6 separate regions of the Homo sapiens genome follow, and all the other regions are linked to region 1. Evidence: promoter capture Hi-C in 16 types of primary human blood cells and fetal thymus (Javierre and others, 2016). All regions are on one chromosome and are shown on one strand. The core of a region is centred on a gene start or on the middle of the fragment in contact, and the rest is flanking DNA. Distances in the headings are between cores, read along the strand shown.

What was found. The method cuts DNA at HindIII sites, captures the fragments that hold promoters and counts their contacts. A CHiCAGO score of 5 or more calls a contact.
Region 2: a contact is called between a fragment that was not itself captured here and the fragment with the promoter of PPP3R2 in region 1, in 1 of 17 cell types (naive CD8 T cells). The highest score is 5.4, in naive CD8 T cells.
Region 3: a contact is called between a fragment that was not itself captured here and the fragment with the promoter of PPP3R2 in region 1, in 2 of 17 cell types (total B cells and naive B cells). The highest score is 13.7, in total B cells.
Region 4: a fragment that was not itself captured here is called in contact with the fragment with the promoter of PPP3R2 in region 1 in 3 of 17 cell types (naive CD8 T cells, M2 macrophages and total B cells); the score reaches 8.1 in naive CD8 T cells.
Region 5: a contact is called between a fragment that was not itself captured here and the fragment with the promoter of PPP3R2 in region 1, in 3 of 17 cell types (endothelial precursors, naive B cells and activated CD4 T cells). The highest score is 10.2, in endothelial precursors.
Region 6: a contact is called between the fragment with the promoter of OR13C9 here and the fragment with the promoter of PPP3R2 in region 1, in 1 of 17 cell types (endothelial precursors). The highest score is 8.2, in endothelial precursors.

The regions. Positions count from the first base shown.
Region 1 is chr9:101,591,948-101,597,102 of GRCh38, forward strand. It overlaps PPP3R2 (protein phosphatase 3 regulatory subunit B, beta), which reads right to left and starts at 3,022. Exons shown (of 1, transcript NM_147180.4): 1 at 1-3,022. The coding sequence starts at 2,974. The coding sequence ends at 2,462. All of the region lies in intron 6 of GRIN3A (glutamate ionotropic receptor NMDA type subunit 3A), which reads right to left. It overlaps LOC105376186 (a long non-coding RNA gene), which reads left to right and starts at 3,027. Exons shown (of 3, transcript XR_001746863.2): 1 at 3,027-3,141; 2 at 3,396-3,561; 3 at 3,650-3,868. The HindIII fragment of the contact is 3,598 bases long and covers 1,206-4,803 here.
Region 2 is chr9:105,405,569-105,410,723 of GRCh38, forward strand. It overlaps a transcript of SLC44A1 not described here. Among named protein-coding and RNA genes, the nearest start is that of FSD1L, 40 kb to the right of the region's middle. RefSeq lists a silencer at 1-106. The HindIII fragment of the contact is 5,811 bases long and covers 170-5,155 here.
Region 3 is chr9:104,725,745-104,730,899 of GRCh38, forward strand. The region is part of intron 1 of LOC107987105 (a long non-coding RNA gene); the gene reads right to left. Among named protein-coding and RNA genes, the nearest start is that of NIPSNAP3A, 19 kb to the right of the region's middle. The HindIII fragment of the contact is 9,199 bases long and covers 1-5,155 here.
Region 4 is chr9:104,688,491-104,693,645 of GRCh38, forward strand. It overlaps LOC107987105 (a long non-coding RNA gene), which reads right to left. Exons shown (of 5, transcript XR_007061705.1): 2 at 2,645-2,717. Among named protein-coding and RNA genes, the nearest start is that of OR13D1, 3.4 kb to the right of the region's middle. The HindIII fragment of the contact is 1,117 bases long and covers 1,772-2,888 here.
Region 5 is chr9:104,669,150-104,674,304 of GRCh38, forward strand. All of the region lies in intron 2 of LOC107987105 (a long non-coding RNA gene), which reads right to left. Among named protein-coding and RNA genes, the nearest start is that of OR13D1, 23 kb to the right of the region's middle. The HindIII fragment of the contact is 414 bases long and covers 3,004-3,417 here.
Region 6 is chr9:104,615,371-104,620,525 of GRCh38, forward strand. It overlaps OR13C9 (olfactory receptor family 13 subfamily C member 9), which reads right to left and starts at 2,834. Exons shown (of 1, transcript NM_001001956.1): 1 at 1,878-2,834. The coding sequence starts at 2,834. The coding sequence ends at 1,878. All of the region lies in intron 3 of LOC107987105 (a long non-coding RNA gene), which reads right to left. The HindIII fragment of the contact is 920 bases long and covers 2,124-3,043 here.

The DNA.
Region 1 (5,155 bases), core at 1,772-4,271:
TAATTTTAAAATTTCCATATTTTAATGTGCACATTGCAGGGTGTATAAATAATGCCTCTCTTTAATGACAATAATGTCCTCTTGGCTAGCATGACATGTGCTCACTTCCTCCATGTAAAATTCCTCCACAAAAAGTTAAATAGGTTGGGCTGGAATGAGAGATTTTGTTTTAAAAATTCTCCAGTTCTCAGGTCAGAAAGTCTGTTGTCCCCTCTGCAAATGAAGGAGTGGTGAGGACCTTGAAATTGTTCCCATTGTTTTCTCTCTGGGCTTGGACATGGGCTGTACACTAATGTCCAGTTAATTTTAGAGTGGGTGTAGCTAAGAACTAAGTAAGTGTTCAAAAGCAACCAGTAAGCCTCATGTCTCCTTTACATATTGATCTTGTAGAAGGGGAAGAAGGGGGAAGGGAAGGGAATTAGTTGAATGAAAGTGGAATTGTGCTCCAGGTGTGTTGCATGCCTTTTTGAATCCTCAAAATAACCCTGGGGTGGATCCTCTTTAATTAGGTGGAAAGACACAGAGAGGCTAAGTAAATTATTCATGCTCACACAGCTAAAAAGAAGTGAGTGTGATAACAACCCAGTTGCAACTGAATCCAAACCCAGGTGTGTCTGAATCTTTGAACATTACATAACCCTGATCACCACAGGGTTGGGAGCGTTTATCACAGTTTTTAGGGTTGAACAGGAATTGAAGGGGTAAGGATTCCTATTTTTGTGGTTTCTAAGTAATCTATTAAATACAAAAGTATATGGTAGGGTACCTTGATAGATGGGTTCCCTACAAGTGATTAAATTTGTGGACTTTTTTTTTTTTTTTCTATTTTGGTCAAGACCAGTTGCCAGCTTCTTCCAAATAAAATAGCAGTAAATCTCCTTGAAACAGATCTTCCATGTCCTGAAAAAAGTTACCTGAGTGGTATCTCTTGGCTAAGCAAGTGTAGGGAGAGTATGTTTCATTGTTCTGCTGTTTTGAGAGCCTTAAGCATCTTATATGGGAAGTGGTTCTCTGTGAGAAAGAGGATTGGTATGGAGGCACAGATGCTGGGACAAGTCCTAGCCCTGCTCTTCTGAGGACAGTTCATGCTCTGAGAACTCACAATAGTATGTGGGACACCTCAGGGAGCTGGTAACATTTGGGGTACAGGCAGTGATGTATTTACTGGTAAACAAATTCTCCAAAACAAAACAAAAACAACTAAAAGCTTTTGTTCTTTTCTCACCATGGCTGATCTAAAGCTACCAACATGACATAAATGCGTGGGAAGAGACACATGCATTCTGGATCTCCCCTGGAACCACAGGCTCCGGCTCACCCAATGGTGGAGATCTGTTAGTGTGTGAGGACTTCTGCACTGAATGTTCCACTAGGGAAAAGGCTTCCTGGAATGAGAGAGCTCTCAGTTTCTCTTCTAGGCCTCAGATCTGATTTTCAAAATCAGCATAGCTGGTGTAGCTAGCATCCACCTCTGCTGTGGAGACACAATTGTCAGTCTCTGCATCTGTGAGCAACAGACATAATGCCACTTTGGCATCCTAGGGAGATTCCACTGCAGCCTGACTCTACTGCCTCTCCTCCGTAGGACAACTAACTAAATGTCTCATTGTCTCCACCTGGGGGTAGGGACCAGTGTCGGAGGTGAGAGCACTTTCTGGGAGAACACTTTGCTTGCCCTATTTAGCTGGAGGTCCCCTTCATTGAAATTAATGCTGGTGTGGGCTGCCAACCCTGGAAACCCACTGCTAATGAGGATGATGGCTGAGCTGGGCACTTAGTCCAGGCTTAGCATTTCCTATAAGAGCCCTGAAGCTAGTTTCTGTTCAGGAGCTGGAGCAACAAGTCAGGAGGAGGCCAAATGAACTCCTACCCCTCAAACATGCACAGCGATTTCTGGATGCATTGTGGGGAATGGGGCTGCAATCTGCCGAAGGAAAAGATGGGATTCTGTCCCCTAAGAAAAGTGATTACGAGATGCCCAGCAAAGACAAATATATTTGTCCCTGTTGCTACAATAGGAAGTTAACAATCTGGCAAGATATCTGAACACAAGCAAATGAAAACAGTTCACCTAACACCCATGCAAATTATAAATTTCCTCCCATATACAAAATGATGAGAAATAACAGCAAAAATGTATACTTTCTTATTTTTGAACTTTTAAAGTTCTAGTTTGGTCTTTGAATCAAAACAAAGTAAAAGATGTTTATAAAAGCCATTTCCTTTTCTTTCCCCACTATGCTCATTTGACTTGCTCTTCCCCCTATAGGGTACCCTGAGTCATTCAGAGAAGGAGAATTAATAGCACTGAGTTGGTGATGAAGCTCCTGTTAGGACATATGGCTTCACAAAAAGAAATACTTCCAGATAAGTCAGAGAGACAGTTGGACGTCTTGAGCAAATCTTGAAAGAGATAGGGAAGAAAGCAGAAGTTGTTGGGTGGTGCTTGTAAGAAAAAGGCTCATACGATGAGGACCAGCTTCTTGTGGATCTCCAGGTCTCTGACCACAGCACTGAATTCCTCAAAGGATATCTTCCCATCGCCATCCTTGTCCAGGATGATGATGGTTTTGTCGACCAGCTGCTGGAGCTGCCAGTCCGTCAGGTTGTTGCCCACCATCATCTTCAGCACCTGGAAGAGCTCCCCGTTGGAAATGTAGCCATCTTTATCCATGTCGTAAATGCTGAACGCAAACCTCAACTTCTGCTCCTCGTCGCCCTTGACGCTGAACTGGGAGGTCCCCAGGATGAATTCCTTGAAGTCCACTTCTCCATCACCGTCGGTGTCGAAGACGTCGATCACTCGCCGCACCAACGGGTTGTGGCGCAGCTCCGGCAGGGACATGAACTCCTCCACGCTCAGAGACCCTGATTTGTCCAAGTCCAACTTCTTAAACCTCCTGCCCAGCCTTTTAATTTCATCATTGTCAAAGTGGGAGCACATCTCCGCCGGGTAACTGGCCTCGTTTCCCATTGTGGACATCTGGCAACGGCCACGGCTCAAAGGGTCGGAGAGGGGAGCAGGGGCGGTGAGCTCGGGCGGGGCTCGTGCCCGGACGGTTGGGCCATGGGGTGGGGGTAGAGGGCTCCCGGGGGCCCTGGTCGAGCAAAAGGGCAGGGGAGCGGAGGGAGGGGCGGCAGGTCAGAGAGGGAGCGGAGAGAGGAGGGAAAGAAGGAGGGAAAAGGGGGCGGAAGGGGAGGTGGGTGCTGTCTGGGCAGGAGTATAGGGAGGAGAGAATGGAGCCTGGGGGTGCCCGGGAGAGGCAGAGGTGGAAAGCTGGGCTGCCCCTTCTCTTTTTCCTTCTCTCAAACTCCTTGTACCTTTCCATGATAACCCCAATTTCCCTGGCAATTATTTTATCTACTTATTTCTTTTTTTTTTTTCTCTGAGAAAGTAAACCCCAAAGGAGAAGGGATCGCACCTGTGTTATTCGCTGCAGTATCCCAGAAGCACAGTGCTTCACAGGCAATATGTGCTTAATAAATATACGCCGAATGACTGAACTGCAACCAAGGACACTGTATACTTGCTTTACAGACCTAGTGTAAGGATGAAACAAGGTGACACATCAAGGCATTGATATAGTATGTTTTCCACGATTCCCTGGGAGGGGAAGCCGGGATTGACATCCTTCTGTACCTTTTTCAGGACGTAGGATTCAGAGTGTTTGTAAGAGACCAGGCAGATACCGCGCAGAATTTCTTACATGGATCACCTACAGGCACTAACATATTCCCGAGGAATATAAACAATGCTGAATTCAGGGCGTTTTTCAAGATGACACAGGTCTCAAGAACACAACCTCTGTTACTCTGTTCCCTCTTATCCATCATCTCATGCCCGAGTCACATCTTTGTTGTTGGTGCCTGGCGGCTATTCTGCAGAATACCTTGGGGGAAGGTCTGCAATGTGCCCAAAGAAGCCTTTTGTGTGTGTTGAGAGTGACAGTCGCCTCTGGATGATCTCACTTTTCTCCTTTTGTTTCAACTAGATTTGTTCTTTCTGTTGAAGACTAATCTCACATGCTCCCTCTTATTCCTTCTTCCTTTCGGAGCGCATCAATTACTCCAAATGCATAAGAAACAAATGTGGTTCAAGAGCAAACAGTTCAAAGGGACTTGGGGGAACCTCAGGCCACTACATCAAACTGAAAGATGCAAACACTCCTTCGCTTTAAAAAATGTTGGCAAGTTCTGTGTTCTATAGTTCAGCCAAAATATCAGTCTAAAGATAACCATGCTGGAACTAGCAAAACTAAGCCACTGATCACCTTATCATTAAGTCTGGCCATTTTACTTTCCTCTATAAACAAATGATAATCCATGGATATGTTTTAAAGCTGATTATGGGCATTACACAAATGAAACCCCCTTTCCCAATTAGACTGTTATATTGGAATGTTTTTTTGTTTCATTTATTTGCTTGCTTTTCAGTTATTCAGAGAAATGAGCATGGTACAGTTTGCATATAAGCCTATTGAATTTGCAATATTAAGGATACCACCTTAAATTATATTACAAGATGCCTAAAATCAGTGTTGGTCTCTAAATGATACCAACCACTATAGCCTGTGTTCTTTCTAAAGCACAAAGACCTTTCTGGACTCTCTGGGGGAAATATCCAGGCCCTGCAGGTGCAGTTCTGAAAAAATCAGAAACCTCAGGGGCAAGGACAGAACTCTATCTTTTGGGCATGCACTGGGGCTGGGAGCCTCTAGAATTGTGTTATTTCTCTCATCTTGTGTCTTTGACCACAGTGTAGTCCAGTTTCTTGGCTGCAAGTAAAAGAATCTACCTCTAAGAAGCTTAACATGAAAGATAATTTGTTGGAAGAATCTCACATAATCTAAAGAAGAGCTGAATGATTCAGTCTTAGGAAGGGTGAGGATCCCACTGGGTTTAAGGAAATATTGGAACCAACGCCTCAGGACCAGTTATGTAATTTGCAGTGTCCTTTGTTTGAAAATGATTGAGAGCTTCAAGATGGCCACAGCAGAACATTAAACCAAGTACGGGACCTTATGAGACTGCGTGGGCCACATGCCCATGAAGCTGGCCCTGCAAGGAGTTGGGCCCATTGACCTCTCTGTGCCTTTCACCTCTGCTTCTCTTTCCTTCACTCTCTCCTATGGTAAAGCAATTCTTCCACATTGCA
Region 2 (5,155 bases), core at 1,825-4,324, 3.8 Mb after region 1:
CTGTGAAAGTGGTGGCTCATGTTTCTGATGTGGCTTGCCAATGCCCAAGTAAGCAATGTGTGGTTAGACCTTGTTCTCAAAAAAAAAATTGTGGTTGTGTGTTTTGAATTGTCTGGTGGCTCCCTGAATGATCAACTCAGGGGTTTATCTTTGTGTCACATGCCTCAGAAGCTTCTTAGGGTTGAAGTGATCTCCCAAGTGACATTTGTCAATGGCACTTAAAGGCTTATATACTAGCTGCAGCAACCTGTGGTGAAGAATAACAGATGCGGCAAACGGCAGACAGATGGAAGCCTGGGAAAGAAGAGGCTAGAAAAGGACATACACGGAGGAATAACAGCTTTCAAAAGCTCCTGCATATACTAGGAAATGTCCAAGGCCACACACATGCCCAGGGCTTGACACAGGAAGGACCTGAGAAGACCACAAACGTTCGCTTCTGGCTAACCTTTCGATGCAAGCAGGAAGTAAAGGCTAGAGCAGAGTTGTAAACAGTCTTGCTAAGGGTTAAGCAGTGCCCCCATAAAGAATGAATGTGCAAAGACTGGAAGGTGATCTCTTTTTTTTTGTGGCTCCAGGTATTTAAGGAAAACTCTGTCAAATCACTAGCTGACCATAAACTAACAAAACAGAGACTTCAGTGGCCACACACACACACACCAAAGAATACAGTCTCTACAATACATAGTTCAGAAAAGTCATTAAACAAATAAACAACGATAACCCACAATAAGCCAGCAACTACAAACCCTAGGGAGGAGGAAGAATCTGATTTCCAGAGTTGCCACATTATAATATGCAAAATGTCCAGTTTTCAACAACAAGAAATTACAAGGTACACAAAGAAATAAGAAAGTACAGCCTATTAACAGTAGAAATTAACAGAAACTGGCCAGACGTGGTGGCTCACACCTATAATCTCAATACCTTGGGAGGCTGAGGCAGGAGGATTGCTTGAGGCCAGGAGTTCAAGACCAGCCTGGGCAACATAGTGAGACCCCATGTCTACCAAAAAATAGAAAAAGTAGCCGAACATGGTGGCGTGCATCTGTAGTCCCACCTACTCAGGAGGCTGAGGTGGGAGGCTTCCTTGAGCCCACGAGTTCAAGGCCGCAGTGAGCTGAGATTGAGCCACTGCACTCCAGCCCGGGTGACAGAGCAAGACTTCATCTCTTTAAAAAAAATTTTTTTAAAAAGAAACTGTCTTTGAAGAAGCCCAGATATTTGACTTACTAAACAGAGACTTTCAATCAACTGTCTTAAATATGCTCAAAGACACAAAGAAAGTGAAGGACAAAGAACTAAAGAAAATCAAGAGAACAATGTTTTACCTAATAGAAGACATCAATAAAAATATAGAAATGATAAAAAAGGGAACCAAATAGAAAACCTGGAGTTGAAAATAACTGATATCAAAAATTCACTAAGAGGGGTTCAGTAGCAGATTTGAGCAGGCAGAAGAAAGAATCACCAAATTTGAAGATAGATCAACTGAGATTATTCAGTCTAAGGAGCAGAAAAAGAAAAGAGTGAAGAAAACTGAACAGAGCCTAGGAGACCTGTGGGATACCCTCAAGCATACCAACATACACAGAATGGGAGTCCCAGAAAGAGAAGAGAGAAAGAAAGGAGCAGAAAGAATATTTGAAGAAATATTGTCTTATAAGGTCTGGGCTATAAAGAAAAAAATACTTGAAGAAATAATGGTTGAAAACTCCTCAAAAGTGATAAAGACATGAATGCACATCTAAGAAGCTCGACAAACTCCACATAAAATAAACCTAAAGAGATCCACACTCAAACAGATTATAACCAAATTGTTGACAAAGAAACATAGAAAATATTGAGTGCAGCAAGAGGGAAGCAGCTCACTACATATAAGTGATCCTTAATAAGATTATTCCCTGATTTATCAGAATGAGGGATGATGTATAGTAACCCTGAAAGAAAAACAATTGTTAATCAAGAATCCTGTATTCAATAAAATTCTCCACCAAAACTGAAAGAAGGCCAGGCACAGTGGCTCACACCTGTAATCCCACTGTAATCTCAGCACTTTGGGAGGCTGAGGCAGGCGGATTACCTGAGGTCAGGAGTTCAAGACCAGCCTGGCCAACATGAGGAAGCCTTGTCTATACTAAAAATACAAAAATTAGCTGGGCGTGATGGCACATGTCTGTAATCCCAGCTACTTGGGAGGCTGAAGCAGGAGAATCACTTGAACCTGGGAGGTGGAGATTACAGTGAGCTGAGATCATGCCACTGCACTCCAGCCTGGACAACAGACCAAGACTCTGTCTCAAAAAATAAAAATAAGGCCAGGCACGATGGCTCACACCTGTAATCCCAGCACTTTGAGAGGCCGAGGCAGGTGGATCACCTGAGGTCAGGAGTTGGAGACCAGCCTGGCCAACATGGTGAAACCCTGTCTATACTAAAGATACAAAAATTAGCTGGCATAGTGGTAGGCGCCTGTAATCCCAGCTCAGGCAGGAGAATTGCTTGAACCTGGGAGGCGGAGGCTGCTGTGAGCCGAGATCTCGCCACTGCACTCCAGCCTGGGCGACAGACTGAGATTCCGTCTCAAAAAATAAAATAAAATAAAAACAAAAAACTGAAAGAAATCAAGACATTCTCATACAAACAAAAGTTGAGGAAGTTTGCTTCTAGTAGACCTGCCCTATGAGAAATGCTAAGGGAAATTATTCAGGAAGAAATGAAAGAACACAAGTAACTCTAGCTATACAAAAAAATAAAAAATAAAAACATCAGTAAGGAAACTACATAGGTAAACATAAAAGCTAGTATTATTGTATTTTTTGTTTGTCACTCATTTGTTGTTGTTGTTGTTGTTGTATTTGAGACGGAGTCTTGCTCTGTTGCTCAGGCTGAGTGTAGTGGCATGATCTCAGCTCACTGCAACCTCCACCTCCTGGGTTCAAGTGATTCTCCTGCCTCAGCCTCCTGAGTAGCTGGGACTACAGGTGCATGCCACCACATCTGGCTAATTTTTGTCTTTTTTAGTAGAGACAGAGTTTTACCATGTTGCCCAGGCTGGTCTCGAACTCCTGACCTCAGGTGATCCACCCACCTCGGCTTCCCAAAGTGCTGGGATTACAGGCGTGAGCCACCGCACCCGGCCTGTCACTCACTTTTTTTCTACATGATTTAAAAGGCAAATGCATAAAACAATAATTATAAATGTATCTGAATGAACACACAATGTATAAAGATATAATGTATGACAATAACAACATAAAGGGAGAAGGTGGAGCTACATAGGAACACAGTGTTTGTACATTATTTAAGCTAAATTGGTATTAATTCAAACTAAATTATTATAAATTTAGGATGTTAATTATAACCCCCAAGGTAACATTAACAAAATAACTAAAAATATACATTCATAAAAGGAAATGAGAATCAAAATAATACACTAGAAAAATCAATTAAACATAAGAGAAGACACAGATATGATATAAAGGAAATAAACAACAAAATGGCAGAAGCAAGGCCTTACTTACCAGTTTTTTAAAATGTAAATGGATTAAACTCTTCAGTTAAAAGGCAGAGTTAGTGGCATAGATTAAAAAACAGACTCCAACTATATAATATCTGCAAGAGACTCAATTTACGTCCAAAGACACAAATAGGATGAAAGTGAAAAGATGGAAAAAGATATTCCATGCAAATAGTCATCAAAAGAGAACTGGAGTAGCTATAGAAATATCAGACAAAACAGCCAGTAAGACAAAAATTGTTACTAGAGAGGACATTTTATAGTCATAAAAGGAACAATGCATCAATAACATATAGCAATTATAAACATATGTGGGCCAAGTGCAGTGGCTCACCCTTGTAATCCCAACACTTTGGGAGGCCAAAATGGGAGGGTCACTTGAGCCTAGGTGTTCGAGACCAGCCTCAGCAACAAAACAAGACCCTGTCTCTACAAAAAGTTTTAAAATTAGTCGGGTGTAGTGGCGTGTGCTGGTAGTTCTAGCTACTCAGGAGGCTAAGGTGGGAAGATCCCTTGAGCCCAGGAGGTCGAGGTTGCAGTGAGCTATGATCACGCCACTGCACTCCAGCCTTGGTGACAAAATAAAAAATAAGCATATGTGCATCTAATAAGAGAATCCACAGTACACGAAACAGAAACTAACAGAATTAAATGGAGAAATAGACAAATCAACAATAATAGTTGAGACTTCAATATTTCATTTTCAAAATGGATAGAATAACTAGACAGAAGATCAAGAAGAAAATAGAAGACTTGAAGAGCATCATACACCAACTAGACATAATAGACATCTGTAGAGCACTTTATTCAACACTATTCTTCTGAAGTGCACATGGATCATTCTCAAGGCTAAACCATGTTAGGCCACAAAACAAATCACAGTAAATTTTAAAAGATTTAAATCATATAAAGTATATTCTAGGTCAAAATAGAATGAAATTAGAAATAAATAACAAGGAAATTGACTCAAAATGTTATGAAAATAACAAGTAAATTACCTCAAAATAGACCTAAATATAAGAGCTAAAACCCTAAACCTCTTAGAAGAACTCATAGGAGTAAATCTTCATGACCTTGGATTGGGCCATTGTTTCTTGGCTATGAAACCAAAAACACAAGCAATGAAAGAAAAATAGATAAATTGGACTTCATCAAAATTGGAAAATTTTTGCCTCAAGGGACATAATCAAAAGTACAAAAAGACAACCCACAAAATGGGAGAAAATATTTGCAAATCATGTATCTGATAAAGGTCTACTGTCCAGAATATGTGAACAACTCTTACTACTTAACAACAAAAAAATAAACAACCCATAACGAGCAAAGGACTTGAAGAGCTATTTCTTCAAAGAAGTTTAAAAATGGCCATGAAGCACATAAAGAGATGCTCAATGTCATTAGGGAATTGCAAATCAAAACCACAAGGAGATACCACTTCAAACCCACTAGAATGACTATACTCAAACAAATAGACAATAAGAAGTGTTGACGAGAACACTCATACATTGCTGGTGAGAATGTAAAATGGTGCCACCACTTGGAAAACAGTTTGGCAGTTTCTCGATAAGTTAAACATAGAATTACCATGGGATGCAGGTATATATCCCAAATGATTGAAAACAGGTGTTCAAAGAA
Region 3 (5,155 bases), core at 1,856-4,355, 3.1 Mb after region 1:
AGTTATGAAGCTACTCAGGAAGGGACCAGAGAAAGGCGAAGCCCAATGCAAGGAAATCCAAAAAAAAGGTACAAGAAGTGAAGAGAGAAATATTCATGGAAATAGATAGCTTAAAAGAAATAAAAAATTTAGGAAACTCTGGACACACTTTTAGACATGCAAAATGCTCTGGAAAGTCTCAGCAATATAACTGAACAAGTAGAGGAAAGAAATTTAGACCTCGAAGACAAGGTCTTCAAATTAACCCAATCCAACAAAGACAAAAAAGAATACGAAAATATAAACAAAGCCTCCAAGAAGTCTGGGTTTATGTTAAACAACCAAACCTAAGAATAATCGGTGTACCTGAGGAAGAAGAGAATTCCAAAAGCCTGGAAAACATATTTGGGGGAATAATCAAGGAAAACTTCCCCAGCCCTGCAAGAGACCTAGACATCCAAATACAAGAAGCATAAAGAACACCTGGGAAATTCATTGCAAAGAGATCTTCACCTAGGCACATTGTCATCAGGTTATCCAAAGTTAAGACGAAGGAAAGAATCTTAAGAGCTGTGAGACAGAAGCACCAAGTAACCTGTAAGGGAAAATCTATCAGATTAACAGCAGATTTCTCAGGAGAAATCTTTTAAACTAGAAGAGATTGAGAACCTGTCTTCAGCCTCTTCAAATAAAACAATTATCAGCCAAGAATTTTGTATCCACCAAAACTAAGCATCATACATGAAAGAAAGATACAGTCATTTTCAGATAAACAAATGCTTAGAGAATTCACCACTACCAAACCACCGCTACGAGAACTGCTAAAAGGAGCTCTAAATCTTGAAACAAATCCCGGAAATACATCAAAACAGAACCTCTTTAAAGCATAAATCACACAGGACCTATAAAACGAAAATACAGGTTAAAAAGCAAAAACAAAGGCGGGGCACAGTGGCTCACGCCTGTAATCCCAGCACCTTGGGAGGCTGAGGCGGGCGGATCACAAGGTCAGGAGATCAAGACCATCCTGGCTAACACGGTGAAACCCCGTCTCTACTAAAAATACAAAAAATTAGCCGGGCATGGTGGCAGGCGCCTGTAATCCCAGCTACTCAGGAGGCTGAGGCAGGAGAATGGCGTGAACCCAGGAGGCAGAGATTGCAGTGAGCCAAGATTGTGCCACTACACTACAGCCTGGGCAACAGAGCGAGACTCCATCTCAAAAAAAAAAAAAAGGCAAAAACAAAAAACAAAGCCAAAGTACACAGGCAACAAATAGCACGATGAAAGCAATGGTACCTCACATTTCAATACTAACATTGAATGTAAATGGTCTAAATGCTTCACTTAAAAGACACAAAACTGCAGAATGGATAAGAACTCACCAACCAACTATCCGCTGCCTTCAGGAGACTCACCTAACACATAAGGACTCACATAAACTTAAAGGGGTGGAAAAAGGCATTTCATGCAAATGGACACCAAAAGTGAGCAGGGGAGCTACTTCAGACAAAACAAAACTTTAAAACAACAGTGGTTAAAAGAGACAAAGAGGAACAGTACATAATGGTAAAAGGCCTTGTCCAAAAGGAAAATATCACAATCCTAAATATATATGCACCTAACACTGGAGATCCCAAATTTATAAAACAATTACTAATAGACCTAAGAAATGAGATAGACAGCAACACAACAATAGTGGGGGAACTTCAATACTCCACTGACAGCACTGGACAGGTCATCAGGACAGAAAATCAACAAACAATGGATTTAAACTATACCTTGGAACAAATGGACTTAACAGATGTATACAGAATATTTATACATACATACAGTATATATAATATATATAATTATATTATATAGTATATCTAATATATAATACAGTGTAACATTTCGTCCACAAGCTCAGAATACACATTCTATTCAACAACACACGGAACTTTCTCCAAGATAGACCATATGACGGGCCACAAAACAAGCCTCAATAAATTTAAGAAAATTGAAATTATATCAAGCACTCTCTTGGACCACAGTGGAATAAAACTGAAAATCAACTCCAAAAGGAACTTTCAAAACCACGCAAATACACGGAAATTAAATAGCCTGCTCCTGAATGAGCACTGAGTCAAAAACAAAATCAAAATGGAAATTTAAAAATTCTTCCAACTGATGACAATAATGACACAACCTATAAAATAAAAACCTCTGGGATACAGCAAAGGCGGTGCAAAGAGGAAAGTTCATAGCCCTAAACGCCTACATCAGAAAGTTTGAAAGAGCACAAACAATCTAAGGTCACACCTCAAGCAACTAGAGAAACTAGAACAAACCAAAAACCAAACACAGCAGAAGAAAGGAAATAACCAAGATCAGAGCAGAACTAAATGAAATCGAAACAAAACAAAACAAAATACAAAAGATAAATTAAACAAAAACCTGGTTCTTTGAAAAGATAAATAAAATTGATGAACCATTGGTAAGATTACCCAAGAAAAGAAGAGAGAAAATCCAAATAACCTCACTGAGAAACGAAACAGGAGATATTACAACTGACACCACTGAAATACAAAAGATCATTCAAGCCTACTACGAACACCTTTACTCACATAAACTAGAAAATCTACAAGAAATGGATAAATTCCTGAGAAAATACAACCCTCCTAGCTTAAATCAGGAAGAATTAGATACCCTGAACAGACCAATAACAAGCAGCAAGATTGAAATGGTAATTTAAAAATTACCAACAAAAAAAAGTCCAGGACCAGACGGATTCACAGCAGAATTCTACCAGACATTCAAACAAGAATTAGTACCAATCCTTTTGACACTATTCCACAAGATAGAGAAAGAAGGAACCCTCCCTAATTCATTCTATGAAGCCAGTATCACCCTAATACCAAAACCAGGAAAGGACATAACCAAAAAAGAAAACTACAGATCAATATCCTTGAGGAACATAGATGCTAAAATCCTTGACAAAATACTAGCTAACCAAATCCAACAACATATCAAAAAGATAATCCACCATGATCAAGTGGGATTCATACCAGGGATGCGGGGATGGTTTAACACTCAAGTCAATAAGTGTGATACACAACATAAACAAAATTAAAAACAAAAATCACATGATCACCTCAATAGATGCAGAAAAAAAATTTGACAAAATCCAGCATCCTTTTATGATTAAAACTCTCAGCAAAATCAGCATACAAGGGTTACACCTCAATGTAATAAAAGCTACCTATGACAAACCCACAGCCAACGTGATACTGAATGGAGAAAAGTTGAAAGCATTCCCTCTGAGAACTGGAACAAAACAAGGATGCCCACTCTCACCACTCCTCTTCAACATAGTACTGGAAGTCCTAACCAGAGCAATCAGACAAGAGAAAGAAATAAAGGGCATCCAAATCGGCAAAGAGGAAGTCAAACTGTCACTTGTTTGCTTACGATATGACTGTTTACCTTGAAAACCCTAAGGACTCCTCTAGAAAGCTCCTAGAACTGATAAAAAGAATTCAGCAAAATTTCTGGATACAAGATTAATGTACACAAATCAGTAGCACTTCTGTACACCAACAGCAACCAAGCAGAGAATCAAATCAAGAACTCAACCACTTTTACAATAGGTGCAAAAAATAAAATAAAATACTTAGGAATATACCTAACAAAGGAGTTGAAAGACCTCTACAAGGAAAACTACAAAACATTGCTGAAAGAAATCACAGATGACACAAACAAGTGGAAACAAGATCCCATGTTCATGGATGGATAAAATCAGTATTGTGAAAATGACCATACTGCCAAAAGCAATGTACAAATTCAATGCAATCTCCATCAAAATACCACCATCATTCCTCACAGTTATAAAAAACAATTCTAAAATTCACATAGAACTAAAAAGAGCCCACACAGCCAAAGCAAGACTAAGCAAAAATAACATTTTATAATGTGACTTTATTAAACGTTTTGTTATATTGTATTTATTCAATGTGGCATAGTTTTTTAAATGGAAGAAATGGGTACAAACTCTAACACTGTAATTTACTAGGATAATAAATTTTAACCTATCAGAGACTCCATTTCCCTTGACGTAGAATGTGGCATTTAGTCCCTAGCTTAAGGGGTCTTATGGGAATTGAATAAGGGAAAAAAAATGCAAAATGCCTTCTTCGGTGCTTAACAAAATGTCATGCAACAAAAAATATACATTCCCCTTACCTTTCTCCATATATATCTATCTTGCCTAACAGACTGAGGGGATTCCCTGAGGGAAAGATATGAAAGTAGTATGTACTTAACAGTCCTTGGTACCCAGAACAAAATAAGCATTTATTGTAAATATGTGTTGAATGAGTGAATGGGTGATTGTCTTTCTTATGCTGAAGTTAAACAATTTTATTTGCCATTGCCTGAATAATCCTTATGACTGCTGCATCTGCATTTTTGCAAATACCATTCTCTCCACCTAAAATTGCCATCCCTTTAACCTACTATGAAAATTCAAGGTTCTCCTCAAAAAAAGTCTCCTCTGACTTTAAAGCCTTCTAAAATCATCCTAGCAAGACTCTACCTTGTCTTCCTCTAAGTTAAATTCTTATACAATCTACTTAGGCTTTGAAGTGTTTATTATGTTTTTATTATGTGTTTTTTATTCTCTTCAATTATATATACAATATGTCTGTTATTTTATTCAAAGGTCATCAGACACAGAGGCTGTGAGTTATCTGTCCTTGTAATACCACAAATGTTAACAGTGGGCTTCAATGAATAGATTCTTTGGATCACTGCATTTTGCTTTATTGTATAAAGTCTATTTGTTTATTAATTTTCTTTTCATAGAATATGAGCAATGTGACTGTGTTGTATGTAATACATATAGCTAGCAATAATCCTGCTTAAAATAATATTTCCTTTGTTGCATATATGGTTTTGTTTATTCTGGGCATCAGAGGTTTGTCTGTAACAGATCAGCAAAGTCCATCTAACCTAGTTATAAATAGATATAATCTGTGAACTACTTTATTATGCTTATAATTTGACAATGACCAAAATAAAATATTAACTTATAAAACAGTGACTCCTGTATAAGTATCTCTAGCTCTGAGATACACTCTAGGCATTTGAAATATAACATGTCCAGGCCAGTGGCTCACGCCTGTAATCCCAGCAC
Region 4 (5,155 bases), core at 1,080-3,579, 3.1 Mb after region 1:
CCACATTCTAAGTGGTGAGCTCTAGAATCCTAATCTAAGAACTGGGACTGTGTTAGTGTGTCTTCTCAGAGTGAATATATTTGTCAAGTTGATCTCTTGAAGTCAGAATATTCAATGGCATTAAGTCAGTTTATGTCATAAATCAACAGAAAGCCTTTCTCCAATTTTCTTTCCAATAACTATTCTCACTTGATCTTGGGTATTAGTGAAAATTGGACCAAAATTCTTCAAACTCTCACCACTGTTTCCTTCAAAGGAGAATTTAAAATATTATGTATTTTTATAATCAGAAAATATACATTCTTTTCAAAAAGTTAGAAAATGAGGCAAAATGAAGAACAGTAATAATCCCTCCAAGAACCACATTCCAGAAAAAAAAAAAAAACTGGTTAAGATTTCAATGTAACTTCTTTCAGTCACATATATACAAAACTGTGATCATTTATATGCTTATGAGACAGTCTTCTTTTTTTTTTTTTTTTGAGATGGAGTCTCGCTCTGTCGCCCAGGCTATAGTGCAGTGGCAAGATCTTGGCTCACTGCAACCACCACCTTCCGGGTTCAAGCGATTCTTCTGCTTCACCCTCCCAAGTAGCTGGGACTACAGGCACGTGCCACTATGCCTGGCTAATTTTTGTATTTTTAGTAGAGATGGGGTTTCACCATATTGGCCAGGCTGGTCTCGAACTCCTGACCTTGTGATCCGCCTGCCTCAACCTCCCAAAGTGCTGGGATTACAGGCGTGAGCCACCGCGCCCGGCCGAGACATTCTTTTTAACACAGTATTATATCATGGGGATTTTCCTTTTCATTTACTATTCTCCAAGATTACAACTTTCATAGTTGTTTAACATATGAGAGGATGTATTCTTATGTGTATATTATAACCTACCAACCCCACAAACCAGAATTCCAGCACCTGGAGGTAAAAAAAAAAAAAAAAAAAAAGCATAGCAACCTTTTAAACCATGATTAAACTTGAAACATAATAGGACATATGGATCCAACCCATGGATATGCTATTCCATTTGGTTGGCTCATTCTAGTGAAAAATTGTTGATAATAGTGCTAACACTATCTTTGCAAACTTTAAGAAAAAACACTGCTACAGTTTCACCATTTTGAATTATGCTGCCCAATGATTTGAGAGTAATAATCTCCTTTATCATCTTAATTCTCGATCTTCCTGTATCTAGATTACTCAGAGGTCTGACCAAGAGTGAATGTTGTATTTTACCAAATGCACTTTAGCGTCTTGTTAGAAGACCATGTGTTGGGTTTTTTGCTTATTTGTTTAGTATGTTGATAGATTTTCAAATATTAATTTGGAATTTTATTAATCCATGAAATAAATTGTATCACTTTAGTATATACAGTTTGGATGTACTTTAATTATGGTTATACCATATACATTCATAAATAAGATTATCTACAGTTTTCGTCTATCTTTGAAAGTTTGGGAAAACAAGGCTATTTTTGCTTGATAAAATGTTTCTACAAAATGTTCTATAACTTTTTCACATTGAAACATATTATACAGCACAGAAATTTTTTCTTGAAAGTGTGAAATAACTATTGTAAGCATTCTGCATCCAGTGCAAAATCCAGTCTTGATTTTGAAAGTCAAGATCTCACAATAGGATCTCTATTACCTACCATAGTATACATGGCATAGTTTCTGTTGAATAAATGTAGAATTCTGTAAGACAGATATGCACAGTTTTATGACAGTATATAAAAAGGGCATCCTCCTCACAATAGTAGGTGAGAAAGCTTTCCTAGAAAAGGTAATAGATAAGAACAATCCTTCCAGTTTAAGAAGACGCCACACACAAATGCATAATGATGAAAATGCAAGCTGGGCGCAGTGGCTCAATGCCTGTAATCCCAGCACTTTGGGAGGCCGAGGCGGGCGGATCACCTGAGGTCAGGAGTTCGAGACCAGCCTGACCAACATGGTGAAACCCCAACTCTACTAAAAATACAAAAATTAGCTGGGTGTGGAGGCAGGAGGCTATAATCTCAGCTACTCGGGAGGCTGAGGCAGGAAAATCACTTGAACCCAGGAGGCAGAGGTTGCAGTGGGCCAAGATCACACCATTGCACTCCAGCCTGGGTGACAAAGTGAGACTCTGTCTCAAAAAAAAAAAGAACAAAAAAAAAAAAAAAGAAAGAAAATGCAGTATTATGGGGAGACTGAGCAAAACTCATCATGGTCAGTGCAGAGCATTTGGGACATCAGTAGTGGCTCCAGAGTTAGAGAGAACCAGAGTTGACAATGTGATTAGAGGATGAACTAGAGGACTTTCGTTGAAGCTGCAGAGCAAGCACATATTTTCCTTTAAGTTGTATTTCTCTATTAGGATGTCTTTTGTGAGGAGACTGATGGCGATCATGGGGAAACAAAGTCCTCCTAATAATTCCTCCTTAACACAGTCATGGGAGGAGACATGGTATGAATTGGAGAAAGATACCTAATAGGTTAGGATAGGCCTGTGTAATGGGTTGATTCAGTGTCTTTGGCGAAGTTACCGTTTCCCTTTCTCTTGTTTTGATCTAAATCCTGAAATATTTCACTAACACATATAAGCTGAAAAGAATAAATTAAAATTTAAAATAAATTCTGAAACATGGACTTCTTCACCTGGGATCTTTTCTGAATAGAAAGAAAGACAGCCATTCTTCTTCCTTCATCTTTGTATCCTCGACATCCCCACCTATAGGGTAAACACATAAAGCATACCCTTAGAATGACACTGTAATGACAGAGGCACCCGAATGTGTGTTCTGATCTAGGGAATCTAGGAGTAGCCAACCCAGAGATTTGTTCTTTCTCTGTGATAAACAGCCTGTCCCAAACATGGGCCGTGCAGGGAATTGGGTCCCTAAGCTTTTGGTTGGATGAAGGTTGCCAGGTGGAGGTTGTTAAGGAGAGGATTAAGTGAAAATGCCATATAAAACTGCATGATTTTACAGGTAGTTGTGGTTTTTCTGTCCAGCCCACCACCCCTGGACTCTCTCCCTGTATGTAATTCCCTAATAAACCCCATGTCTCATTTGCTGACTCTGGGTCTCTTGGCCTTTTGCACCTGGTGCCGCCCCTATTGAGATTAATAGGGGTTTAGCACAACACCATCGCCCAAGATACAAGTGGTAAGTTTAGTGTTCTTTCTATGCTAGCACAAATTTGTTTCTTCTCCACCTCTTCTTTCCTTCCACTTTCCTCTACTTCAAAACAGCTATGCTCTATCTAATTAAAACGGCTACCGTAACTGCCCACTTTGTGGGAACAAATCCATATGCCAATGTAGATAGAGACAGGAAAAAGAAGTGCAAGACAAAGGGAATATTTTCCAACATACCAACACATTGGTATCATCTAATTTTTTTTAATCTCCTCCCAAATCATGGTGTAGGTAGTACTCTCTAAGAGGAAGACAAAGGATATGGAAAGGGAATGGAGAAACTTTTTCCCTTCATCTCCCTGGAGCCAGTACTCCACTACTCCCTGGAGCCACTACTGATGCCCCAAATGGTCTGCAAAGACCATGCTGAGTTTCTTCTAGTCTCCCCATAATACTACATTTTTCATCATTATGCAACAGGGAGCTAGGAGGGCTTGCCATCTATGACTACCCAGAGAGTAAGCATTCATCCTGTCTTCAAAGTCTCTGGATATGAAAAGGCCAAAGCAAAAGTGTGGTTGTAGGGTCAGAATAAGATCAGTAAGAAATATTCTCATTCCACAAGGAGAGCCCAGCATAGATATAGTTCTTGTGGTAATAGTGTAACAATGTATGAGAAACAGCCCTTTATATAAGACATCTTAACACAATACTTGGACATATCAATGTAATGAATATGAAACGAATGGAGCACATTGAGTTTTCAAAGATGTGGCACTAATGTTATAAATGGGAGTAGTTTCTCAAAAGACTCTATGCTGCATTTAGATTTGCAGAGTGAGGGCAGGGGCTGTGGTATTTTTGATATGTTACTGATAAAGGCAAAGGTGGGCTGGGCATGGTGGCTCACACCTGTAATCCCAGCACTTTGGGAGGCTGAGGAGGGTGGATCACCTGAGGTCAGGGATTCAAGACCAGCCTGGCCAACATGGTGAAATCCCATCTCTACTAAAAATACAAAAATTAGCTGGGTGTGGTGGTATGCGCCTGTAATCCCAACTACTTGGGAGGCTGAAGCAGGAGAACCACTTGCACCTGGGAGGCGGAGGTTGCAGTGAGCTGAGATTACACCACTGCACTCCAACCTGGGCAACAGAGTGAGACTCTGTCTCAAAAGAAAAACAAAGAAAGAAAAGAAAAAGGCAAAGGTGATGAAAAGGACTTTTGTATCATTATTCTTGATCATGCTTTTTTTCATAGCTGTGAAATCGCCTTCTACACATAGAAAACTGAGCAGACCAGGCAGGGTGGCTCATGCCTGTAATCCTAGCAGTTTGGGAGGCCAAGGTGGGAGGATCACTTGAGGCCAGGAGTTCGACACCAGCCTGGCCAATATGATATGAACCCCGTCTCTACTAAAAATACAAAAATTAGCCAGGTGTAGTGGAGCATGCCAGTAATCTCAGCTACTCGGGAGGCTGAGGCAGGAGAATCGCTTGAATGTGGGAGGTGGAGGTTGCAGTGAGCTGAGATCGCGCCATTGCACTCCAGCCCAAGCAACAGAGCAAGATTCCGTCTTAAAAAAAAAAAAAAAAAAAAAAAACAGCGAGAGAAAAGAAAAGAAAACTGAGCAGACCACAATCAAAAGCTACAGGAAAAAGTAAGTGGTCCAGCCTTCAGAGTTCTCCATCACATCACATATGATCAGAATCACAAGTAAATGATGTTTGCTGTCTCACTGTACCCCAACAGAAGATACATTTTTGTAATAGTCTTCTCTTGCGTGGAATCTGTGTAGTAACCACTGAGAGAGAGTAGTGTATGGTGGGTAAAAGGGCTGATTCTATAGCCAGATGGCTAGATATTGAATTCTGGCTTTAGTATTTACTATCTGTATGACCTTGAGAAAGTTACTTAAACTTTTCTTTGTCTCTGTTTCCTACTTTGTAAAATGGCAGTAATACTACACTTAAGAAGAGAGAATCCCAGGGCCTGGAAAAAAAGCTGTACATGCTGGGACCTAGACTCCT
Region 5 (5,155 bases), core at 1,961-4,460, 3.1 Mb after region 1:
TTTCTGCTACTATCCAGATTCTTTTCAACTTGGAGATTACAGTAATCTATTTGCTTTCACAGAATCTAAACTTTTTTAATTCTATAGAGTCTGCTACCTTTTCCAAATTAATCTTCCTAATTCATGGTGTTCATCATCACCACAATTCAAAAACTTACCTTGGCTTTCCAACTAAGACATGAACACTTTGACCTGATACTAATGTCTCCCCACAAAACAACTACCACCTAAAATTCCAGATTATCTCCTAGGGCAATCTCATTCACTCTATGGTTTCAATGCATCATCAATAAACTGGTGAATCCAAATCCATAGGCCTCATCCCAGATTTCTCTCCTGGGCATTTTATGGTAGCATCTTATCTAAATGCAGTAAGTAAAACACATGTCTTTCACTCACCATGTTGACTTACACTACATTATCTTCCTGCTACTTTCCTATTATGAAAAGAAATGTTACCCCCTGTTCTTTTGATGATTTCCAAAATGCCTAAACTGAACTGCAAAGTTGTCTGAGCTCTAGATCCTAAATAACTCTTTAGCCTCATATTTCACAAAATTTCACCTCTCCCAACTGTTCTTTATCCCATGTGCAACCAAAATGGAGCTTCTTTTAATTTTTAGAATATACCACCTTCCCCCACCACCCCCCTCCTCTCTCTCTAGAAAACAAAGAGCAAATGGAGAATTTTTGAGGGAGAAAGAATAGCATAGCATATGCAGAGGGTAGGGAACTCTTCCTTTTCTTGCTTAATTGCTATTATCCTTCTCCCAGAATCTCCTGAAGATGTCATTCCTGACCCCTAGTCTGAGTTAGGCAACCCTCCTGTGTGCCCTGATAACATCCTATATCTCCCTTAATACAGCACTTATCACACATTATTGCAATCACGTGTTTAATTATCTGTGTCTGGCCAAACAGCAAGCACCTTAAGAATAAGCACCATCTTGCTCTTGTTAATCACTGTAATTACAGAATTAAGGCCAGTACCTGGCATATTTTTAACCACTCAGAATGCAAGTGTTATATTGTTGACTTCCCTTGCAATTCCTAACTGATTAATGGCACCACCAAATCTAAACTATCAAAACTTATAAAGTTGGACTCCTAGACATCTTTCACATCTGTTAACTACCCTCCAGCTATTCTTAGTACTATTTCCACATTATGCCTCCATTTGATTACTGCAAGGTACTCCCAGTTGGCCTTTCTACCTTCATTTTCAACACCATCGCTAGCACCTCAGTCTATTCTCCATAATTTTGTCTGCGTTATCTTTCCAAAAAATCAATCTGATCATGGTAAGCCTCTGTCAAATAAAAGCTGCATGATTTTGGGCCCGTTACTTAAGCCTCAATTTTCTTAATCTGTTAATAATATTTTAAGGTAAAAATGTGCAACTAAAGAAGCTAATAGGGGATCAATTGAATATCCAAAAAGAAAAAATTTAATCTTGGCCCCTACTTTATACACAAAAATCAAATCAAGATTGATTACAGATTTAGATATGAAAAATGGAACAATACATCTTTTAGAATAATACGTAGAAGTATTCTTTTAGAAGAATATATAGAAGAATAACCACAAAGAAAAGATTGTGAATTGGTCTAATTATATTTAAATTAATAACTTCTATTCATTAGATGTCATCATTAAGAACATAAACAGAAAGGAAAAATATTTTTTAAATAAATATTTTTAACAAAGGATTCATATAAATAAGATATGAAAAATCATTTAAAATCCATTTTAAAAAGACAACCTAGTAGAAGAATGGACCAAAAAAAAAGTGAATGTACATTTCATCAAATAAGGATATTTGAATATGCAATAAATGTATGAAAAATGCTTAACTTCAGGGAAATAAAAAAATAAAATAATATGCTACCACTCCCACCACAACAGCTAAAATGAAAAACAGAGATAATACCAAGTGTTTCCAAAGATGTAAAGCAACTTAAGTTCTTACATACTGCTGGTGGGAGCTTAAATTGGTACCAATACTTTATAGAACTGGAGATGTGTATGAAGCTAAGTATTTGCATACCCTATAACTCAGAATTCTTTCTAAACTATATATTCAATAGAGTGATTATATACAAATTTACACCAAAGATGCATATAAGTATGTTAATAAAAGCACTATTCATACCTTATACAAACACTAGAAAAATATAAATGTTTATCACAAGTAGAATAATGGAATATTTAGCATGGAGAATGAAGAAGGTGCAACTTCAAGCAATATAATATTGGTTAAAGGTATACATAATACATGATATTTGAAACAAATAAAATCAATATGCAGTATTAAAATAGTAATATCTATTAACTCTGAGGAGCTTTGGGGGTGCTTTCTCTGTTTTCCACGATCTGAGATGTGTTCCATTAAAGCATTCAACATGCTATAGCACTTATAAATTGAGCATTTTCAACAAATAACTAGATAGAGAACCCACTAAATACAGAACCCAATGCATTTCCTAAGACTTTAATAGATGTCTTTCATGATTAACAGTATTACTAGTGTTATTATTACATGCTTACAAAGCTGAAATTTCCATGGCTCATTCTCAAAAAGGAAACAGTCAAGCAATCAAAATAATTTTCAACCTCTACTTAACTTTCTTAAAAACCATGGAAGGAATCCAAATATTTCCTACCACAGTAACACTGATAAGAATTACTTTTTCTTTTATCCACTGGCATCATATCCCCCAGCTGTTTTGGAGCATCTCTCCATTTTCCAGCTTTGCTTTTTTTTTTTTTCCTCCCTCTCTCTTGCTTTCATTTCATATGATAATATTCTTTTGATGTAAATATCTTTTATCAGGTAAAATAAAATTTCTCTTCCTTGGACCAGCAGTTCAGGGGATGGTAAGTTTTAAAACAAGGGAAAAAACAGACTTTAAGTATTGAGGCTTATGTCAGTGAGCTAGGATATATATTGATTGTATCTCACATTTTTAATTATTTTGAAGATTATAAAGATCAATAACTGGAAGCTTCTGCTCTTTTGATAGATGGATTTTGAGAAGAGTTGAACATTAATATTCCCAAATCAAGGGTTATTTTTTCTGTCGCACTGTCGCTAAACTCAAATGTCACCTCTTCTGTGAAGCCTTTACTAAACCCTCCAGGAAAAAATCACTTCTCCCACTTCAGTGTTTCTATATGCTTCTTTGTGCCTCTTTTATAATTTGTATTATATATTGTATACTATTTATTCAGAGGGATGTAGTTGAAAGCACACATTTTAGAAATCAGGAAGAGATGGATAAAAATCCCAACTCTGTAGTTCACCAGGAACATAAAATTTAAAGACGTAAAGTGGAGTCCTCAGGAAATAGATGTTCATTATAGTTCTTTGTTGAATGAATGAAGGCATGATTGCTTTTCACACATTGAAGCTAAGCAAGCTTAGTTACCATTACTAGAATAAGCCTTGCCAATCATTGCTGCCTCTGCATCTTTGTTCATGCCATTCTCTCTATCTAAAATCAAAATCTCTCTAATCTATCACAATCCAAGACCCTCCTCAAAAGCCTCCTCTGCCTTGAAGCTCCTACTTATCATTTTAACTAAATTGGATTTGTTTAGCAATCTTTCATAATATTTATAATATGAAGATTTATTTTCTATTTGTGTGTTGTTTGTATATCCTGCTTTATTGAAAGGTCATTAGAAGTAGAGTTACTGGTCTTTGTAATCTCCACAATTAACACGTTGATAATTTGGATCAGTGCAATTTGTGTATTCAACTTTTTTAAACAGGCATTTTTCTTTTGAAGGTTGTGTCTTGTATGATGTTACAGGGAATACACACAACTAGCAATAAGCCCAGTTGAGACAGCATTCTCTTCAACAGTGTTTCAGGCCAGGTGTGGTGGCTCACAACTGTAATCCCAGCACTTTGGGAGGCCAACACAGGCAGATCACTTGATGTCAGGAGTTTGAGCCCAGCCTGGCCAACATGGTGAAACCCCATCTCTACTAAAAACACACAAAAGGCCAGGTGTGGTGGCTCACACCTGTGGTCCCAGCACTTTGGGAGGCCAAGGCAGGTGGATCAGAAGGTCAGGAGATCGAGACCATCCTGGCCAACATGGTGAAACCCTGTCTCTACTAAAAATAAAAAAATTAGCCAGGCGTGGTGGTGGGTGCCTGTAGTCCCAGCTACTTGGGAGGCTGAGGCAGAAAAATCACTTGAACCTGGGAGTCAGAGGTTGCAGTGAGCCGAGATCACACTACTGCACTCCAGCCTGGTGACAGAGCGAAACTCAGTCTCAAACAAACAAACAAAAAGCCCACACAAAAAAATTAGCTGGGTGTGGTGGCGTGCACCTGTAGTCCCAGCTACTAGGGAGGCTGAGGCATAAGAATTGCTTGAAACCAGGAGGCGGAGGTTGCAGTAAGCCAATATTGCCTACTGCATTCCAGCCTGGGTGACACAGTGAGACTCTGTCAATTAAAAAAACAATGTGTTTCAGTGTTGTTTACCTGGTTTTGTCTCACCTGAGTGTAACAACCGCGACTATAATAGGTCAGGCAGAGTCTATCTAACTGAATTAAACACAGATAAGAATCCCAGAGCTACTTTCTTAAGGTCATTATTTAACAAGAAGAAATATTAATCTATAAACCAGTAATTCCTACATATGTATCTCCATTCCTGACTTCCCTAACATCCAGATTCATATATTCAACTTCCTACTGCACATTTCCACTTAGATAATTAATAAGTGTATCAAGATAATGAGTTCAATACAGAACTGTTGATTCTCTCTATCCTCATTTGGTTTCATCTTCCCTACCTCAGGAAATGTAAAACCACTTATACAAATCCAATGCACCAGAAAATTCTGTCAGTTTGACTCAAAATTTATACTGAACCTGAATACTTCAGTTGCTACCACTCTAGTCCAAGCTACTGTTATCACATCTACACTACTGAAATGGCTTTCAAAGTCATCTCCTTGCTTTCATTCTTGTTCTGCTACAAGTCATTCTCCAGTAGCTTGGGTGGTTTTTTTGTTTGTTTGTTTTGTTTTGTTTTGTTTTGAGACAGAGTCTCGCGGTGTTGCCCGGGCTAGAGTGCAGTGGCGTAAACTCGGCTCACTGCAACCTTGGCCTCCCAGGTTCAAGCAATTCTCCT
Region 6 (5,155 bases), core at 1,584-4,083, 3.0 Mb after region 1:
CATGGACGAAGCTGGAAACCATCATTCTCAGTGAACTATCACAAGGACAGAAAACCAAACACTACATGTTCTCACTCATAGGTGGGAATTCAACGATGAGAACACTTGGACACAGGGTGGGGAACATCACACACTGGGGCCTGTCGGGGGGTAGGGTGTTGGGAGAGGAATAGCATTAGGAGAAATACCTAATGTAAATGACGAGTTGATGAGAGCAGCAAACCAACATGGCACATGTATACCTATGTAATAAACGTGCACATTGCGCACATGTACCCTATAACTTAGAGTATAATAATAAAAAATGGTATAAATCTGATGTAACACTATGGAGCCACCTGAGTCATCCCAGAGAATTTATCAAAGTGGCTGGATTTAAGTTGTGAAGGAAAACAAAATTAGCATTTGAGCATTCAAGACAACCTGACTATGAGTCAAACATAAAATGCCTGACTTCCGGAGTTTTCTACCTACCAGGAATTCTTAGTGGGTGCAAAAAGTCCAATGAACTCGTGTATGGGAACTAATAGATTTTCACAGCCCATTTTGTCAGGATGTAAATTTAATTATCAATAATTTCAACTCTTGCCATCAGATTTAATCTGTAAACAACTATGATGGATATATTTAAATATAGTTTGTGACTGTTTAATATTCTTTCCACTAAAATTAACAAGTGAACTTGGGAAGATTAAACGAGTGACTAAACCCAAAGATTCCACAAGCAGGTAATTCTTACTTGTCTACGTAAAATATGTTTATGCCCAATATACTCTAAATTCACTGGTCCATTAATAAAAATTGCTTCAGCTAAACTGATTACCTAGAAGGTGGTTCACTCCTGAACACACTTCATCATTCATCTTGGGCTGTAAATTTAAAATGTTCTTCACATAGAGTAAAATGTTGACGTAAAAACCAAGGAAAAGCAAGATAATGTCTGACATTCCCCAATCCTCTTCTTCCTCAAATTAAGCTGGTTAGTAACAGAGACAAGACATGAATAGTATTTGTACTAAAAATTAAGAGCTTGGACATTCTTCTAAGACTTGGAAAAATATTGGAATTCCCTCGGGATAGCAAAAAAATTGGGCATCTTCTAAATGGGCATTGATAGGACACTCCATTCAACCCAAAACTAGTCCACATTATTATCTGGACCAGTAGACTGATTTTCAAACCTATTTTTAATTTTGCAAAATGTTCTTTATGCTAAAGCCAACCTATAAGTTAAAGCAAAGAAAGACCATAAAGCAGGATATCCCGATTGATTGCATAGGCCCTGCTTTTAAACTCTATTTATCTCCTGCCCCTTGATAGTCCCAAATACTCAGCTTCACACAAAAATATTTAAATACAGAACAAGAAAATAGTATTTAATGACTCAACAGGATCTGGAGATTAATGTGAAACTATAACACAAGGCTTGCCACTGGAAAATGTGAGTGCAGTATATTGGGTTTTTTTCTGTTTTGCTTTTTCTACAACAGAGGGCTTTATTTATTTTGAAAGAGTCAATGAAATGTTGCCTATGAAATAACATTATGTAGAAAAGTGAACATAAAAAGGCACATCACACCCAATTCCAATACAGCAAAAATTTAAAAACCATAATACGAAAGATACTGTTCAAAATGTTGAAAAGTAGCCATTTCCCACTATTAGAGTAATAGGTAGCCCCTCTGTCTTCTTCATCCTACTGCCCTGTATCTTGCAAATTCTCTAGAGTGGACATGCAATAATTTTGAAATGCTGTATCTCATTATTTTAACATAATATATGAAAATGCAGAAAAATAGTAAAAGTATCCAAAATTCTAACATAATTCTGAAGTTTCAACAATATCAAGTGTGTTCACACTCCAGTACATTTTGCATTCACTTGCTAAAGAACCTTCTGTTCGGTAGGTGTTTTACTGCCTCTTTCACATCCTTGTTTCTAAGACTGTAGATTAAAGGATTCATCATGGGAGTCATCACCCCATAGAACATGGATATAATTTTGTCGGTAGCATCCAAGTCATCTGAATTAAGTGTCTCTTTAGACTTGGGCTTCATATACATGAAGAGGATGGTCCCATAGAATATTATGACCACAGTCAGATGGGCTGAGCAGGTAGAGAAAGCTTTGCTTCTCCCCTCAGAGGAGTGAATCTTGAGGATGCTGGAAATGATTAATGAGTAAGAGATAACTATCAAGAGCAGTGGCATCAATGTGAACAATATTGTGGCCACAAGCATGAGGAACTCATTGCCTGAGATGTCAGCACAGGCCAACTTCATGACAGCTAGAATTTCACATGAGAAATGATTGATGACATTCTTCCTGCAGAAAGGCAATTGTACTACAAATGTAGTTTGTACTGCAGAGTTGACAATCCCTGCAAACCAGGACCCAACAGCCATGGGTACATAGGCATTCTTGCTCATGATGATGGGATATCTCAGAGGGTTGCAGATAGCCACATAGCGGTCAAAGGCCATCATGCCCAGAAGCACACACTCTGTTGTCCCCATGGCCAAGCCAAGGAACATCTGCACTGCACAGCCAGAAAAGGAAATGGTCTTTCTTTCTGAAAGGAAGCTCACTAGTGTGGAGGGAATAGAGGTGGTGGTGTAGCAGATGTCCAAGAAGGAGAGGTTCCCCAGAAAGAAGTACATAGGGGTGTGAAGGTGAGGGTCCAAGATGCTGATTAAAATGAGAGTACCATTCCCCAGAAGGATGACCACATACATTATGAAGATTAGCACAAAAAAGAGTAACTCAAGCCTTGGGTGAACAGAATGTCCCTTCAGAAAAAATTCCACCAGAATGGTTTGGTTTTCCCATTCCATTTAAATGTCTCTCTTTTACCTGTAAGAAGTCAAAAAAATTAATATAATTTATTTACATGGTAAATCCAAGTATACCAATGTACAAATATAAAAATTTGCCACGGACCCATAAAAGTATTGAAGAAAGAGAAAATAGGGAAGAGGAGGAAGGAATATACGGAAATGGAATGAAAAGAATTAACAATGCAGGAAGAGAAATATGAGGGGAAAGCTTATGATATTGATCACTCATTCTTGGCCAGGAACTTTGTGATTTTTTTTCACATTACTTAATTTAAACTCCACATTATCATTTGAAAGATAAGAAAACCTAAAGTGAGAGAGTTCAGCCTAAAGTCATATAACTAATGTGTAGCAAAGCCTAGGCTCCAAGACTACCTGTTTGTGTCCCATACTTGCCTGAGGTTTTTTAATGAATTATAAAAGCAATACAGAGTGTATTGCATAAGAGATTTGGTAATTTACTTTAAAACCTCACTCCCAGGTCAGGAGAACTCAACAATAACCCATATGTATTCCAACACTGAAAGAAGTGTGTCAATCTGGAGGGAGAATCATCAGAAATGAACCCAACCAGTGATTACTGCATTCCTGATTATCCAGAGAACACGACCAATTCATGTAAAGCCCAATAATATGAAATCTTCGTGTTAAAGTGCAAACACCTTTTTCTTTGGTTAGGGGTGGAATTTTTTTGTTGTTTTTTAAAATTATCATACAGTTAGATGTCATACCATAAACTGACTTTTTATTTCCTAGTGTATGGTTCTGTGAATTTTAAAACATGTATAGATTCATATAACCACGGCCATAACCAGAACACAGAACTCTTCTATTACCCCAAAACACTTCTTTGTGATATTCTTTTCTTAGTCACCTCTTCCACTTACCTGTACATCCTGGCAACCACTGATATTTTCTATCCCTATAGTTTTACGTTTACCATAATGTCATATAAATACATATAAATAGAATCATATGAGCCACTGGGGTTGAGCTTCTTTCACTTAGATAAAGCCTCTGAGATCCATTCAAGTTATTATTGCTAAATAGTATTCTATTGAGTAGATTACTGTATTTTGCCTATCTGTTCACCTTTTGAAGGATATTTGGATTGTTTCCAGTTTGGGGCAATTATGAATAGAGCTACTATAAATATTTCTGCCCCAATTTTTGTATAACCATAAGCTTTCATTTTTTTAGAATATCCAGGAATGAGACAATAAGCATGTTTAAATGTATAAGAAGCTGCCAAACAGTTTTCCAGAGTGGCTGTACCAGTTTTGCATTTCAACCAACAATGTATGAGAGTTCCACTTGCTTCCCATCTCATCATTTAATATTGTCAGTAATTTTTTATCCATTCTAATAGATAGTCATATTTAATTATGATTTTATTTTACATTTCCTTGATGACTGATGATGTTTTTCCATTCTTTAGTAAAGTATCTTTTGCCCCCTTTTTTTGTTAACAAATGGGGGTCTCGCTATTTTCCCAGGCTGTCCTCAAACTCCTGGCCTCAAGCCATTCTCCCACCTCAGCCTCTGAGTATCTGGGACTACAGATTCATGTAACTACCAGCTTAACCAGAACACAGAACTACAGGCATGCACCACCATGCTGGTTCTATTGCTCATTTTTAATTTTTTTTCCTTGTTGAGTTTTGAGAGTTCTTTATATATTTTGGATATGAGTTATTTATCATGTGATTTGCATATATTGTCTCCCAGCAGCTGGTTTGTCTTCTCATTCTCTAATGCAAACACCTTTTAGTTGCCATGTTAATTGGTTGCTGCCTAAGTCCAATTGAACATGATGCAAAGAAAGACTACGACTAAAGAGACATGTTCTAACAGCACATCTCACTTTAGGTGATACTGCAGGAAAATATCCACTGGAAAATAGCCATTCCCTGGGAATTGGAAATGGTGGATTTTGCTTAAACTTGCCTCAGAAAGTCTCAAGCTATCTCTTTTAATTTTTTCTCAGGAACAGTCATTTCTCCCCACCCAACTACCCCTCTACACAAACAAATTTCCAGTAGTATCATTGTCCATTGATGAATATCTTCCACTTAGTTCACAAAACAAAAGTAATTTCTGAAAACAAACCAGGCACTTAACACATAGGCCATTTTTCTTTATTCACAAAACTTGGCACAAGTTTAAGGTCTAAATTGAGTTGTTTGAACTTATTTCAACCAGCTTCTAACTAACCAGCTCTGCCTTTGGCCATTATAAGGGTATTTCTCCTTTCAGCATATTTTGCCCTTATTTCCATCAACTCCACTTTTTATACTTTGGGATCCTTTTATACCCTA